Regions from separate parts of the Homo sapiens genome. Here regions 2 and 3 are each linked to region 1. Evidence: promoter capture Hi-C in 16 types of primary human blood cells and fetal thymus (Javierre and others, 2016). All regions are on one chromosome and are shown on one strand. The core of a region is centred on a gene start or on the middle of the fragment in contact, and the rest is flanking DNA. Distances in the headings are between cores, read along the strand shown. Region 1 holds the start of SLC41A2 (solute carrier family 41 member 2). Region 2 has its middle 36 kb from the start of CHST11. Region 3 has its middle 20 kb from the start of CHST11.

Evidence for each region. The method cuts DNA at HindIII sites, captures the fragments that hold promoters and counts their contacts. A CHiCAGO score of 5 or more calls a contact.
Region 2: a contact is called between a fragment that was not itself captured here and the fragment with the promoter of SLC41A2 in region 1, in 4 of 17 cell types (total B cells, total CD8 T cells, activated CD4 T cells and 1 more). The highest score is 5.2, in total B cells.
Region 3: a fragment that was not itself captured here is called in contact with the fragment with the promoter of SLC41A2 in region 1 in 10 of 17 cell types (total B cells, naive B cells, non-activated CD4 T cells and 7 more); the score reaches 10.1 in total B cells.

The regions. Positions count from the first base shown.
Region 1 is chr12:104,955,874-104,960,843 of GRCh38, reverse strand. It overlaps SLC41A2 (solute carrier family 41 member 2), which reads left to right and starts at 2,554. Exons shown (of 11, transcript NM_001352171.3): 1 at 2,554-2,756. RefSeq lists silencers at 2,376-2,645, 2,836-3,165. The HindIII fragment of the contact is 5,296 bases long and covers 1,460-4,970 here.
Region 2 is chr12:104,418,284-104,423,253 of GRCh38, reverse strand. No RefSeq gene overlaps it. Among named protein-coding and RNA genes, the nearest start is that of CHST11, 36 kb to the left of the region's middle. The HindIII fragment of the contact is 1,996 bases long and covers 1,919-3,914 here.
Region 3 is chr12:104,434,267-104,439,236 of GRCh38, reverse strand. No RefSeq gene overlaps it. Among named protein-coding and RNA genes, the nearest start is that of CHST11, 20 kb to the left of the region's middle. RefSeq lists an enhancer at 2,907-3,076. The HindIII fragment of the contact is 817 bases long and covers 1,650-2,466 here.

The sequences.
Region 1 (4,970 bases), core at 1,305-3,804:
TTTTAAGAGACAATGTCTCACACTCTGCTGCCCAAGCTGGAATGCAGAGGCACGATCATAGCTCACTGCAGCCTCGAGCTCCTGGGCTCAGTCAGGTGCGTGCCACCAAGCCTGGCTAATTTTATTTTATTTTTGTAGAGATGGGGGTCTTGCAATGTTGCCCAGGCTGGTCTCAAACTCCTGGCCTCTAGTGATCCTCCCACCTCAGCCTCCCAATGTGCTGGGATTACAGGTGTGAGCCACTGCATCCAGGATCATCTTTTACAAATGCAATTTTTCATGTCCAGATAGGACCTTTTCAACTCTTCATTGGCTTCTTTTGTCTTTAGGATTAAATCCAAAGTCCTTAACCTGACCCTCAAGGGCCCGCCCACCTCTCCCTCCCAGGTAGCTCTCTCAGTCTAAGCACAGTGGCCTTTTCCCAAAGCCTTCACAGACAGAGCCTCTTCCTACCAAAGGGCCTTCAAACCTGCAGTTTCCACAGCTAAATGCACTGCCCACCCCACCCCCTTCTCTATGTTGCCTGCCCTAACTCCTCCTTATTCTTCAAGGCTGAGATTAAATGTCACTTCCTCCAGGAGATCTTTCTTACCCCCTAGCACAGACACGCTCCTTTGTTATACACTCTCATAACTCTCAGGCTTTTTTCCAGCAATCACAACAGCATCACCACACAGCCTCAAGTCCAAGCCACTTGCTTCACATTTGAAGTTGCCAGCTGTCAGACGGGAGATGAAGTAGAAATGGGATTGTTGTTGTCTGCACCCATTAGGACCCAGTTTTTTACAAGGGGGCATTTCCTCGCCCGATTCCAATGTGAGTTATTTTCAGGGCTGAAATTTGATTTAAATTTGGATTCCAACTTGAAGCTTAACATATCTCCAAAGTACACACTACTTTGCGGTACTGAATGAAGAATGTAAGTAGAAGGTTGCCTGCCACATGCCATGTAATGCTCTGAAGGACGGTAGAAACCACCAGCTCTCTCAGAAAAAAATGGTGGAAGAATTTTCAAAACCAAGACAGGCTGGCTTCTGTATATGCTTTGTGTAGAAATCTTGAAAGACTACACACTCAGGGGAGGAACACATATTGGGTGGAACTTCTGCCAAACTTTCAAGAGCAGCTACTTTCTAATGATCTGTAATTCAAAAAACAACCAGAACAAAAACCAGCTGGAAATGCAGTCAAAACACTGCTTTTCCATATTCCTTGCAATTATACTTTCATTTTTAGGTGGTGAGGAACACCAGGATGAGTCATTATAAAAAGCATGACTGCAGATGGCCAAGAGTGATACCGAAGCACCCTTCACCCTGAAGGTTAAGGTTAAAGCTCAAAGTCTGATCGCAAAGCATAAGGAAAAAAAAAAAGAACATGGATAAATGTATGCTGGTGTCCTTCAGCACCAGAAAAGCTGCTACTAAATCACTGGTGTGGCTTGGAATTGGTAGAAGCTTTGATTTGAGGAAAAGAGTATCATTAGCTGTGTAATTTTGAGTTGTTGTTTTAGAGACAAGGTCTCATTTTGTGGCCCAGACTGGAGTGCAGTGATGCGATCATAGCCCGCTGCAGCCTTGAACTCCTGGGCTCAGGCGATCCTCCCACCTCAGTCTCCTAGCCACTCCAGGTCTCGCTGTGTTTGCCCAGGCTGGTCTCAAATTCCTGGCCTCAAGCGATCCTCTCGCCTGGTCCTCCCGAAGTGTTGAGGTTACACGCATGAGCCACCAATCCTGGCATTATGGCATTAGCTGTGTAATTTTTAAAATAACTGTCTTCGGACCAACACCTTTCTTTTGTTCACTGGAGTATCCCTGGGGTGTGTCTCATTCCCTGAATCATACACAGTAGATGCTCAATAGTTTTGTAAATAAAATAAATGAGCTCTCGGATTTACATGCAGACTTTGGATCAGTTTGATCTAGGTTTAAAAGCAAGTGTGGGGAAACTTGAAAAGCCTGGCACCCCAGCCAACTCTTCAGCGCCCCATGCGCTTGGCGCCTACACCTGCCTGGCACGGGGAGGGTGCTATGGGGCTGCCCTAAACCTCACCCCCTCCTGCGGTGGTTCCTGCCCGTCTCGGCTCCTGCACCGCCCACACTATGCGCTGCTGGGCCGAAAGACACGTGGTTCGGTTTTAACTCCAGTCTGCAAGAAACATGACCTCAGCCAAAAAGAGGCCGCTGGTCTGAGAAGAGAAATCATGAGTCATGGATTCGGGGGTTCGGACCTTGGAGCAGGCGGTGAAGTGGGCGTGCGTGGGCTGGTGGGGAAGAGGGATGCCGAAGGAGGCCACAGCCCTTCTCTCCTGGGCAGGCTCCCCAGAAAACTGCCCCCTTGCCGTCATCCAGCGCCCCCGTTCCCGACAGCTGTCTGCCAGGGCGCGGCCGGGGTCCGGGCGGGGCGGTGCTGTCGCTCCGGGTCGCCGCCCCGCGGGCCACATCACCAAGGCCCGGGCTTCCCCGGCGGCGGCGCGGCTGCGCTTGCGCGGGGCTGCCGCGCGGGGGCGGGGCGGCGGGGAGTCAGGGGGCCGCGGGCGCCGACGGCCGGGCTGTCAGCTTGGGGCCGCAGCCGCGCGAGGAGGCGCGGGAGCAGGAAGGAGCTGTGGGCTGGGAGCCGCTGTCCTCCCCGCCACCACCGGTGCCGGGCACCAGGTGAATGCCCCTTCCATCCCCCGCCCCTGGTGTCTCGGTCTGGTCTGAGGAGACGGGGACCCTTCTCACACCGGCCGCTGCCGCCGCCGCGCTCCGGAACAGGTGACCATGGAGGGGAAGTCTCGGCTTCGGCCGCGGCGCCGCGTTCGGGCGCATCAGGTGCGGGAGGGAGGTGGGGCCGAGAGGCCTGGGCTCGGGACCCGGCGGCGGGGGCGCGGGGAGCAGAGGGAGCGGCCCCGCCCGAGCAGCCGTGCCCCCTGCGGACGCCTCTCCGGGCCGCCGGGCAGCGCCCGAGCCCAGGCCCCCGCGCCTGCCCCACCTCGGGCTGAGGGAAGCTGTTCCGCGGCCACCGCGGACAAGCGGTCCCGGGCGCCCAAGGCAGGGACAGGCGGCGGGTGGTGTATGAGTGATGGCTGAAGGTGAGCTGGGATGGAGATGCTGCGAGGCTGGCTCGGGCACACCCCAGATGCCTGTTCAGGGCTCCGCGAGTGCCCCGTCACCCTTTTCTTTCATTCTTCTCTTTATATACACGGAGCATATCTCAAATTTAAAAGCCCAAATGCTCATTTACAGAGAGAGATGACACATATCTATGTGTTACCGATATACATTGATGTGTATATTACGTATATATGTCATCTTTTTTTTGTAGTGACAATTTTTAAATTGAGATATACATCACATGCCATAAAACTCATTCTTCTAAAGTGTGGCTTTTAATATATTCACAGAGTTTTCCAAATATGACCACTATCCAGATCATCATCCCCAAAAGAAACCCTGTCTCTCTTAGTAATCACTCCTCATTTCCCCTTGACCCCACCCCACTAGCCACCACTAATCTACTTTCTGTTTATATGGGTTTGCCTGTTGTGGAAATCTCATATAAATGGAAGCGTACAATATGTGGCTTTTTGTGTCTGGCGTCGAAAGACATACTGTAATGTTTTCAAGTTTCACTCATGTAGTATGTATCAGTACTTTACTTTTTATAGCATATTAATATTGTTGTATCAGTGTACCACATTTGTTTATTCATCAGTTGATGTACATTTGGGTTGTTTCCAGTTTTTGGCCATTGTGTGTAATGCTGCTATGCACATTTGTTTACACGTTTTTGTGGACATGTGTTTTCAGTGCTCTTGGGTATATACCTAGGAGGGCAATTGCTCCGTGTTTCACTTTTTGAGGAACTGCCAAGCAAAGCAGCTGTACCATTTTACTTTCCCACTAAGCAGTGTATGAGGGTTCCGATTTCTTCACATCTTCCCCAAGGCTTGTTACTTTTTTACTGGTTATTTTTTATGATAGCCATCGTAGTGAGTGTGGAATGGTATCTCTTTGTGGTTTTGATTTGCATTTCTCTAATGATTGGGGATGCTGAGCATCTTTTCATGTGCTTATTGGCCATTCATATATTTTCTTTGGAGAAAATGTTCATATCTTTTACCCATATTTTAATTGGGTTGCTTGGCTTTTTATTTTTATTTATTTATTTATTTATTTATTTGGAGACTGACTCTCAGTCTGTCACCCAGGCTGGAGTGCAGTGGCACAATCTTGGCTCACTGCAACCTCCACCTCCGGGGTTCAAGCGATTCTCCTGCCTCAGCCTCCCAAGTAGCTGGGACTACAGGCACACACCACTATGCCCGGCTAATTTTTGTATTTTTAGTAGAGACGTGGTTTCACCATGTTGGCCAGGTTGGTCTCCAACTCCTGAATTCAAGTGATCTGCCCACCTCGGCTTCCCAAAGTGCTGGGATTACAGGCATAAGCCACCACGGCCAGTCTGGGTTGCTTAGCTTTTTATTGAGTTTTATTGTTCATTTATGGAAAAAAATTTCTGTTAATAGGTTTGGATACTGGCACTGACTTGAAAAAATCCAACCAATCTGATACCGAAAAACTTAATGCTTATTCTTGGGTAAAGGTTGAATAAGTGCCACTTCATTCTTTAAGAATACCCTACCTGTTCATTCTGGACATCTTACTGACCCCTTTACATTTACTGCCCTGGTATTTTGAGCAAAGCTACAGAAGGCATATTCCTGACTGGAGTCAAGAGAGACCACCCTTAATTGGTATTTTCATATATTCTATGCTCAATTTGAAAATCCCAGTTATCACTTTAATTACAAAAAATTTATATTAGTGGCCAGCTGAACAAACTAACAATAAATGGCAAGCACAAATCACTCAAAAATTTATGTTTAACTTCTCAGTAAAGTGGAGAATCTTGTTTTCTTAAGTTTGTGCAGTGTAGTTTTTATTACAATTATGTTCATGTGTGGGTGGTAAATAAATATTTTTGAT
Region 2 (4,970 bases), core at 1,667-4,166, 540 kb after region 1:
CTGAGGTGGGAGGATCGCTTGAGCCCAGAAGTTCAACCAGCCTGGGCAATGTAGTGAAACCTCATCTCTACAAATTAAAAAAGTAATAAGGTAGCTTGAGGTAGTCAGAAAGAACCTCTCCTCATCTGAGAGGGTCAACATTTTTTTGTGTGTTTTCTCTGTCTCTGCTTTCTGTGAATATCTATGCCCCTTACACCCCTTCTGGACTCTTCCTTTAGGCATATTAATGAGTTAGTCTTGTCTTAATTGTGCCTAGGAGCCATTTCCAGGTTAAAAGAAAAAAAGACCATGTCTTTCAGGAGTTTACCCTTGTAGGAAACACAGACTTGTAAAAATAATTTCAAAATAAGGGAAGTGCTGCAGGAAAGCTGTCTTTGGAACCAGAAAGAGGGGGAAAAGGGAAAAAGAGTAAAATCAAAAGAGCTGGGTGTGACTAATACTAACATAAACCAAAAATAAAATTCTAAGTCCACAACTGGCCAATGGACCCCACCCTCTTGGCCAAGGGCATTCCAAAGTTAACCTGAAAAGCTAGTTCAAGCCATGATGTGAAGTGAGGTTCAGACATGCCTCATTATACCCTCCTCCCATTGGAATTTAGGCACAGCTGACTAGCATTAACATAAAAAGAGAGACCTTAATACAGATAGACTCTTTTACGTCTGATCAGAAATATTCTCTTCTGTTGATTTTATCTGCATAATGGGAAACTTGGTCACCACAACCCCTTATCTTAACCCAGACATTCCCTTCCACTGATTCTAGGTCTTTAGATAATAACTCTTTCAACCAATTGCCAACTAGAAAATTCTTGAATCTGTCTATGACCTGGAAGCCCACTCCCCCCAGAGTTGCCCCCCTTTTCCAGACTGATCTTATGCGTATTGATTGCTTGATGTCTTACGTCTCTGTAAAATGCATAAAACCAAGCTGTAGACTGACCACCTTGGACACATGTTCTCAAGATCCCCTGGGACTGTGTGATGAGCCACTGGTCAGTCATATTTGGCTCAGAATAAATCTCTTCAAATATTTTACAGAGTTTGACTTTTTTCATCAACACTGACTAGGCGGACTTGGGGGCCTTGGAAACCTGAAGCCTAATTAGGCAGATAAGAGTTCAAAGGAGAAGACAGATTCCAGGACATATTTTTGGACAGAGTATGAACTGAGTGATAAACCAAATTGTGGATGGAAAGGAAATTGGAGAAAGTCAATGATAACCCTTGGGCTGCCCCTGATAAATTCTGCTGCCTCCCAGGTGTGGAAGAATTGGTGATGAAGGTAGAATTTCCAGAAGATATATTTGCCTAAGGCTTCTGGGTACTAGAAATGCCTGAATCTAAAGCAACTATCTCATTCACGCTTTTATCATGGCCCATGAAATTATTTTCCCTGGTGGCAATTGGGAGAGTAAACAAATATGTTGCCAGAAGCAAAGGTGTAACAACTATTGGATCAGAATCAGACAAAGCCGGGCTTGAGTCCTCACCTAATGGCTTAGAGGCCATCATTTCTCTGAGCCTTAGGGGACAATAACAATATCCTAAAGGCTGGTGAAGATAAAATTAATAATAGTTAACATTTGAGCACTTACCAGGCACATGCACCATCTCGAGTGGTTTACATGGACCAGCTCATTTAATCCTCACAACCCACTATGGTAAGTGCTGTTATGATCTCCCTTGCACTGATAAGGAAACTGAAGCACAGAGATGTTAAGTGAGTTCTCCAGGGTCACACAGCTGTGAATCTAACCTCTATCCTATAAACTGTAGATAACTTACAGAACCAAAAAGTGACTGAGGCAGCTGTCTTAATCATTTAGAGGTTTATTTAGCCAAGGTTGAGGACACACCAGGGAAAAACACACAAGTCACCAAGGTACGTGTGACCTATGCTTTTCCCAAAAGAAGCTTTGGGAACTACAGTGTTTACAGGGGAGAGAACAAGCAGGAGGGGAAAAAAGGGAGGGAGGGTAGACAGTGAGGCAGACGGTTACATTTTTATAAGGCTCTGGTTAGCCTCCATAAATCTACATTTTACATGCTAAAAGAGAATAGAGGAAAAAATCATTTATGCATTGTCTTGTGCTCAGTAAATCTATATTTTACCTAAGGTAAAGTAAACATGTGAAAGGTGAGAGGACAGGAAATGTGGCTATGACAGGGGTTGTGAAATTACAGCTATCTGTTTGAGAACAAAAGGAAGACAGCGTTGGTGACTCAGTTCCTAGGCTTAACTTTCCCTTTGGCATGGTGAGTTTGGGGTCCTGAGAGTCTATTTTTCTTTCACATTTACAAATGTTAGTTAATGGTAATTATTTATCAAGGCCTGTTACACTGCAGGAAGTTTTTTTATTATTATTTATTTATTTATGTATTTTATTTTTTGAGACAGTCTTGCTCTGTCACCCAGGCTGGAGTGCAATGGCGTGATCTCAGCTCACTACAACCTCCACTCCCCAGGTTCAAGCAATTCTCCTGCCTCAGCCTCCTGAGTAGCTGGGATTACAGGTGCATGCCACCATGCCCAGCTAATTTTTGTATTTTTAGTAGAGATGGGGTTTCACCATTTTGGCTGATCTCGAACTCCTGACCTTGTGATCCATCTACCTCGGCCTCCCAAAGTGCTGGGATTACAGGCCAGGAGGTTTATTTGTATTATTTCTAATTCTTAATACAATGCCAAGAGGTAGAAATCAAATCACTCCTTTTTACAGATGAGAGAACTGACTTCTAGAGAGCTAGGAGCTAGGTACAGAGCTGGGAGGCAACCAAAAAATTCAAGCCCAGCTCTGTCGCATCCCATACCTCTCCATTCCAAACAGGCCTTTCTGAGGAAAGATCCAGAAGCTGAACTGAAGACCTTAGATTCTGGATAAGAATTTACCTTCCATTGTTTAACGAGTATAGAGTTTCAGTTTTACAGGATGAAAAGAGTTATGGAGCTAGATGGTGGTGATATTTTTACAATACTATGAATGTATTTAATACCACTGAAATGCACATTTAAAAATGGTTAAGATGATAAATTTTATGTAACATGTATTTTAACACAATAAAAATGGAAAAAAATTACTTTCCATAATTCCCTCTACTACTCTGAGAGAAGAAATAATTTTGGCTCCTTCTAAAATCTGAAAGAAAAGAGAGAAAAAGCACATATAAGTAATGAGAGAAATAGTTTGGCATTTTCAATATCCCCAAACCATGATAATGATAATAGTTTTTAAGCAGCAAAACCCCTTCCAGGGGATAAAACAATCAGTGTCCCAATAAGGTAGATGGATGTAGCCAACTACTCAATTATTTGACCTTTGTCTTCTTGGACAAAGGTCCAGTGCTTCTTGTCCAGCATTGAGCTCCCTCTAACCCAGGGCCTGCTGGTCACTTAGGGCAGCAGGTATCACACTCCAGCATGCACAAGTCTCTTGGAGATGCTGATTAAACACAGATTTCTGGAAATCACGTATCTTTACCAAGACTTGTACGTGAACATTTATAGTAACTTTATTCATAATAGTCATAAACTGGAAACACCCACATGTCTAATAAATAGACCAACTGTGGTACATGCTAGAGTACTCCTGAGCGATAGAAAGAACAAACTTGGAATCTACACAACAGTATGGATAAATCACAACAACATTAGGCCATGCCAAAAAACCCAGATATGAAAAGATGCATCCTATGTGATATCACTTATGTGAAATTCTACAACAGGTGAACTAATCTATGGTGATAGCAGGCAGATCAGCGCGTATCTTGGGCTGGGGTGGGGAGGTTAGAAGGGAAACTGACTGCAAATGGATACAAGGGGATCGCGTGGGGTGAGGAAAAAGTTTTATGTTTTGATTACGGTAGTGATTACATGGTTGTATACATTTGTCAAAACTCACAGAACTGTAAGCTTAAAAAGGACACCTTTTATTGCATGTAAATTATACATGAATAAAATTGATTTTTAAAGCAAAAAAAAAACAGATCCTGGGCTGCATTTCCAAAGATCCTGATTCAATGGACCTGGGTGAGGCCCAGGAATATTTATTTATTTATTTATTTATTTTTGAGATGGAGTCTTGCACTGTTGCCTGGGCTGGAGTGCAGTGGTGCAATCTCGGCTCACTGCAACCCCTGCCTCCCAGGTTCGTGCGATTCTCCTGCCTCAGCCTCCCAAGTAGCTGGGACTACAAGCACCCGCCACCACGCCCGGCTAACTTTTTGTATTTTTAGTAGAGACGGGGTTTCACCGTGTTAGCCAGGATGGTCTCGATCTCCTGACCTCATGATCCACCTGCCTTGGCCTCCCAAAGTGCTGGGATTATAGGCATGAGCCACCGTGCCCAGCCCAGGAATCTTTATTTTTAATAAAGTACCTTATGTGATTCTAATGCAGGTAGTCAAAGGCCACACTTAGAGAATCATTACCCTGGAGGGTTTAAGGAAGACCAAATCCAGGGTCCCTAGAAACGGTTATATCTAATTGTTAACCTTTCCCTTCTTGTACCTGCAAACCTTTGCCTTGTCAGTCAATAAATATTTATTGAACTGTTGAGGACTATGAACAACACTTGGCTTTGTGGTAGAAAGACAACATACTATTTATTTCAGCAAACTAGGTGAAGAGGTAGGACTGCTTCATTAAAAGAGGAATTAGTAGTCCAATTATCTTCCTATTCCTTTCTGTCATTGTTGTTCTTAACCTCAAGGGCACAGAGTCCTTGGTTTATGACACCTTCCCATCATTGATCCATGAAAGGCTCTCTTTTACTTAAATAATTTATTTTAGTATTAAGAATTTAAATGTAAGGCGAGGTGCAGTGGCTCATGCCTGTAATCTCTGCACTTTGGGAGGCTAAGGTGGGTGGATCACCTGAGGTCAGGAGTTCTAGACCAGCCTGGCCAACATAATGAAACCCCATCTCTACTAAAAATACAAAAAATTAGCTAGGCACTGTGGCATGTGCC
Region 3 (4,970 bases), core at 809-3,308, 520 kb after region 1:
CTGGCGCTTGAGAGGGGAGCGTGCGCAGTGTGTTTACTAGAGTTGTACCCATGCTCACTTACAGTGTTACTCCTTTACCAGTCCAATGTCCCTAGGAGGTCATGTGCCAGTTAAACTCCGCCATTTTCCCCCTTAGTGCTCATGTGTGAGCCCAGTCTCCCAACTCCTGAGATCTTATCGGGTAGCTACTGATAATCAGTTTCAGGTTTTTCTTTTCTATAGGGAGACTGCCTTTTTCTGGGGCTGGCTGCAACCAATTATTATTTTAGAGAGACAGTTAACCACCTGACCATCACCTGATGGCCACCTGACATTCCTGCTTGGGTTGGAGCGGGGCCTCTCCTGCCCTGCTCATGTCTGACTAGCTACTCACTGGAACAGGGAGACACATACACACACACAAAGTGGAAGATGTTTTCAGAGAGTTACTCTGGAGTACTTTGAGGAAAATGAAATGGGGTTATGTGATCGAAGCTGGCTGGTGCAGAAACACTGCCTTAGAAAGGGTGGTCAAGGGAAGGCCCAGTAAGGATCTGACATTTGGGCCAAAACTGGAATAATGAGAAGTCAGCCATGTGCAAATCTGGAGGGTGCATCTCAGGGGCAGAGAGTGGCAGCACAAAGGCTCTAAGGCAGGGATAAGCCTGGTGTATTCAAAGGACATTAGAAGAGGCCAGAATGGCTACATTGTGTTGAACATGGTCGAGGAGGTGGGGTCAAATAGCAGGCAGGGGCCCAGTAGCCTAGAGTTTACAACCCAGATACGGCAGGAACTTTTGGCCATTCCTACTAACCCCAATATCTGGTCTATTCTTTCATAGCAATAAAACTTCCAAGTTTTAGCTAAGCACATGACTTCCTACAATAAAAACTACATCTCCCAGCCTCTCTTATAGTTAGGTGATGTAGTCATGTGACTAAGTTCTGCCAGTGAAGTCTTAGCAAAATTACCTTGCTTAAAAGATAGCTAGTATATGCTCTCTGCCCCTTCTTTTCCATGCCTCCTTCCTACAGGGGTCCTGCCACTTGGACCCATGATGCAATGACTGGTGCTTTTGCTGTCGTATTGTGTCATGAAGAGGTAGATCACATCCAGGGATGGTGGAACAATGACCTGAAAGGTGCCTGCATCCCCGAGGAGTTCATGGAGTTTAGATACACTAGGAAGTCTGGACTACCTACCTCCCTCTCTACCAGAGGAAGAAATAAGCAAAGTAGATTTCTATTTTTTTAAGTCACAGTTATTTTGGGTCTCTGTTACCCTCAATTAAACAATAGCTGCCTTTGCTATTGATAGCCACAATAAAGAATATGGGTGCCACCTAAGTTTTTGGCTTGAGCAATTGAATAGGTGTTGCCATTTAAGGAAGTGGTAAAGACTAAGGGGAAAAAAACCAAAAACAAGATTTGGGTGAAAATCAAGAGTTATCTTTTGGTTATGCTGGAGCTGAGATGCTATTATACATCCAAGAGGATCTATAGACAGGCAGGCAGCTGAATATTTGAGTTTGAAGCTTGGGAGTGGGGAGGAGGCAGAGCTGAAGGCATAAGTTTTGAAGCCACTGTAGGTTGAGATGTCTCAAGAGTCATCAGCAGCACCATGTCCTCCAAGGGGGGGATGACCTTGCCTTGGCTGTGAAAGGTAAGCTTCATGTTATACCACAAATTCTTGGAAAAAAATGGAATTTTGGTAAATCAAATTTCATTATACCTATACTGGACAAACTTGCTATTTCAAAACATCCTTTCATTAATTATTTCAAGAAGTCTAAGTTTTCTTTCTGCCACTTCTTCTTTTACTTGTTTAGTTTGTCCAAATTTTGGTATTTGGGTCTTTTTTTTTCCAAGCATTCTTGCATTTTCTTTCCTGTAAATGAAAGTGTCAAAAAGATATTTATACTGTTACAGTAGGTAGCTAGTCAGACATGAACAGGGCAGGAAAGGCCCCCCACCCACCACCAGGAATGTCAGGGGACCATCAGGTGATGGTCAGGTGGTTCTTAACTGTCTCTCTAAAATAATAATTGGTCCAGCCAGTGCCAGGGAAACGCAGTCGTCCTATCAAAGGGAAAAACCTGAAACTGGTGATCAGTAGCTTCCTGGTAAGATCTTAGCAGTTGGGTGAGTGGGCTCACACATGTGCCCTAAGAGGTAAAGTGGTGGAGTTTAACTGGAATATGACCTCCTAAGGGACATTGGGCTGGTAAGGGAAGAACGTCTCGAGTGAGCATGGGTACAACTCCAGTAAACACACTGCGCATGCTCCACTCCCAAGCACTGGCAGCCACTGCTCATGCGGACAGGACAGCCCATCCCAAGGGGAGAATCAGGAAAGAAGAGACGTAAGACCCCAGAAGCATGCCCACATATAAAACCCCAAGTCGAAAGGTCAAACTTGTCTTTTAAGTCACCCACTTAATCCTCTTCCAAGTATACTTTCCTTCCTTTTGTTTCTGCAGTGAAGCTTTTTTTTTTTTTTTTTTTTTTTTTTTTTTTTTTTTTTTTTGAGACAGAGTCTCACTCTGTCGCCCAGGCTGGAGTGCACGGGCATGATCTCGGCTCACTGCAACCTCTGCCTCCCGGGTTCAAGCGATTCTCCTGCCTCTCAGCCTCCCAAGTGGCTGGGATTACAGGTGCATGCCACCACGCCCAGCTAATTTTTGTATTTTTGGTAGAGACAGGGTTTCACCATTTTGGCCAGGCTGGTCTTGAACTCCTGACCTCAGGTGATCCGCCTGCCTCAGCCTTCCAAAGTGCTGGGATTGCAGGTGTGAGCAACCGCGCCCGGCCAGCAAAGCTTTTCAATAAACTTTCACTCCTGCTCTAAAACTTGCCTCAGTCTCTCCTTTTACTGTCTGCCCCTTGGTCAAATTCTTTCTTCTAAAGAGGCAAGAACTGAGGTTGCTGCAGACCCCTACAGATTCGCCTCTGGTAACATCCCAACTCAAGAACATAAGCTTCATCAGGCCAGGGACCTCAGCTGTTTTGTTTAGAGTTAATTCTCCACACTGGCATAGAGTTGGTACTCCATAAATACTTGTTAAATAAATGAATGAGCTTATCAATTAGTTTTTCTCATCAACACATTTGAAATTGAATTTATCAATTTGTTTTATCATTAGTATTCCTGAGCTTCCCACGGAGATGCTACTGCTGTCTTTGGACAATTTCTTTGCTGCTGAGATAAGGAAAGGACTCATTTTCCCTGAGGCCTCATCAGGAGAGGAGGGAGAAGACTTCAAAGGAAGCTCCGACTTCACTGCCTGAACTGGCCCTAAAGGAAAGGGGAAGAGAAAGATCAGGAAGGTTTTTGCAGCCTTTTGTGCTACCATGCTGTCTGGAAGTTTCTGAGCTGGGTCTCTGGGTGGCGGCTGCAGCTCCTGGGCAAGGTGGGCTGTAGCAGTCAAGACCAGTCTCCTTCCTAGTTCTACCACTTACTGGCTGTGTCAGTGTAGCATTAGGCAAGTCCCTTAAACACTCAGTGCCTCAGTTTCCACATTTGTAAGTTGACACAAATAGTGACAGCTCCTTCATCACAGGCTGTTGTGTTGATTAAATTAGTTAAAATATGTAAAGTGCCTTTTAAGCTGAATATATAATAAGCTTTCAGTCAATGAAATCGTTATTCTTAGACGCCAGGCACTTCGAGTATACTTTCTCTAAGTCTCCCAGATAACCTTGAAAAGGTAGCCATTTAACTGACAAAATAGAGGCTTGGAGAGAGCAAGTTTTTTGGCCCGAAGAACTCCAGGGCTCCTTATACCTAATCACCCCCGTAATGTGGCTGAACCCCCTGAAAACCACCTGGAATAAGTTCTGGTTTCAGGGGCAGGACTACCGTCTTGATGTGCTAACTCAGCAGGTATGACCTGAGTGGCCATCACACTGGCTTATTTGGCTAAAACAAAAGTTCTTAACTTGTACTAAGACTTTACCCTGAGCTTAACCCTGGGATAGGCACTGCAGATGCCAAAGGTGCAGGAAATCAGCCCTTGCCCTGAGGAAGCTCACAGATCACGGGGGAGACAGGTGTGCAGACCAAGCCCCCAACATTTCAGTAAACAGTGGCCAGTGCTCTGCCAGGGGCCATGTAAGGCTTCCTAGAGGAAAGGAAAGGATGTCAGACTTCAGTCTAGAAGGATGAGCAGAAAATAAAGAAGCAAAAATGTGGGTGGGAGTAAGGAAGAAGAAGGATGGATCTGGGAAGAAAGAGCTTCCCAAAGAAAGGGAACTGAAGGGACAAAGGTACAAACGTGTGGAGCAGGGATCTTTGTGTCGGTCACTGCTAAATCTCCTAGAATGATGGCACATAGCAGGTGACCAATAAACGCTTGCTGATTGAATAGGAAACCAAGGGAAATTAGGCATTATTGTTTGCAGAGACAAATGAGACTCAGAAAGGCTAGTTTTCCCAAGGTTCACAGAGCTGGTAAGTAGAGTATCCAGGACATGAATCCAGCACTTTTGACTGTGAGCTGCACACAGACATAAAATAATAGTAAAATGGTAAAAAGTGGAGCTACCCAAACCAGGAGGAAAAAAAAAAATCCTCTGTCAACTCCAGAATGGATAAATAAAATGTGGTGCAGTCCAGGCACAGTGGCTCAAGCCTGTAATCCCAGCACTTTGTGAGGCCGAGGCAGGTAGATTACTTGAGCACAGGAGTTTGAGACCAGCCTGGGTTACATGGAGAAATCACATCTCTAAAAAAAAAAAAAAAAGAAAGAAAGAAAGAAAAAAAAAATTAGCCAGGTGTGGTGGTGCATGCCTGTAGTCCCAGCCACTCAGGAGGCTGATGTGGGAGGATTGATAGAACCTGGGAGGCGAAGGCTGCAGTGACCCTGGGCAACACAGTGAGACCCTGTCTCCAAAAAAAAAAAAAGGGTGGTATAGTCACACAATGGAATACTATACAGGAAAGAAAATGAAGGAAAAACTGTCACAGGCAACCACAAGAATGAATCTCACAA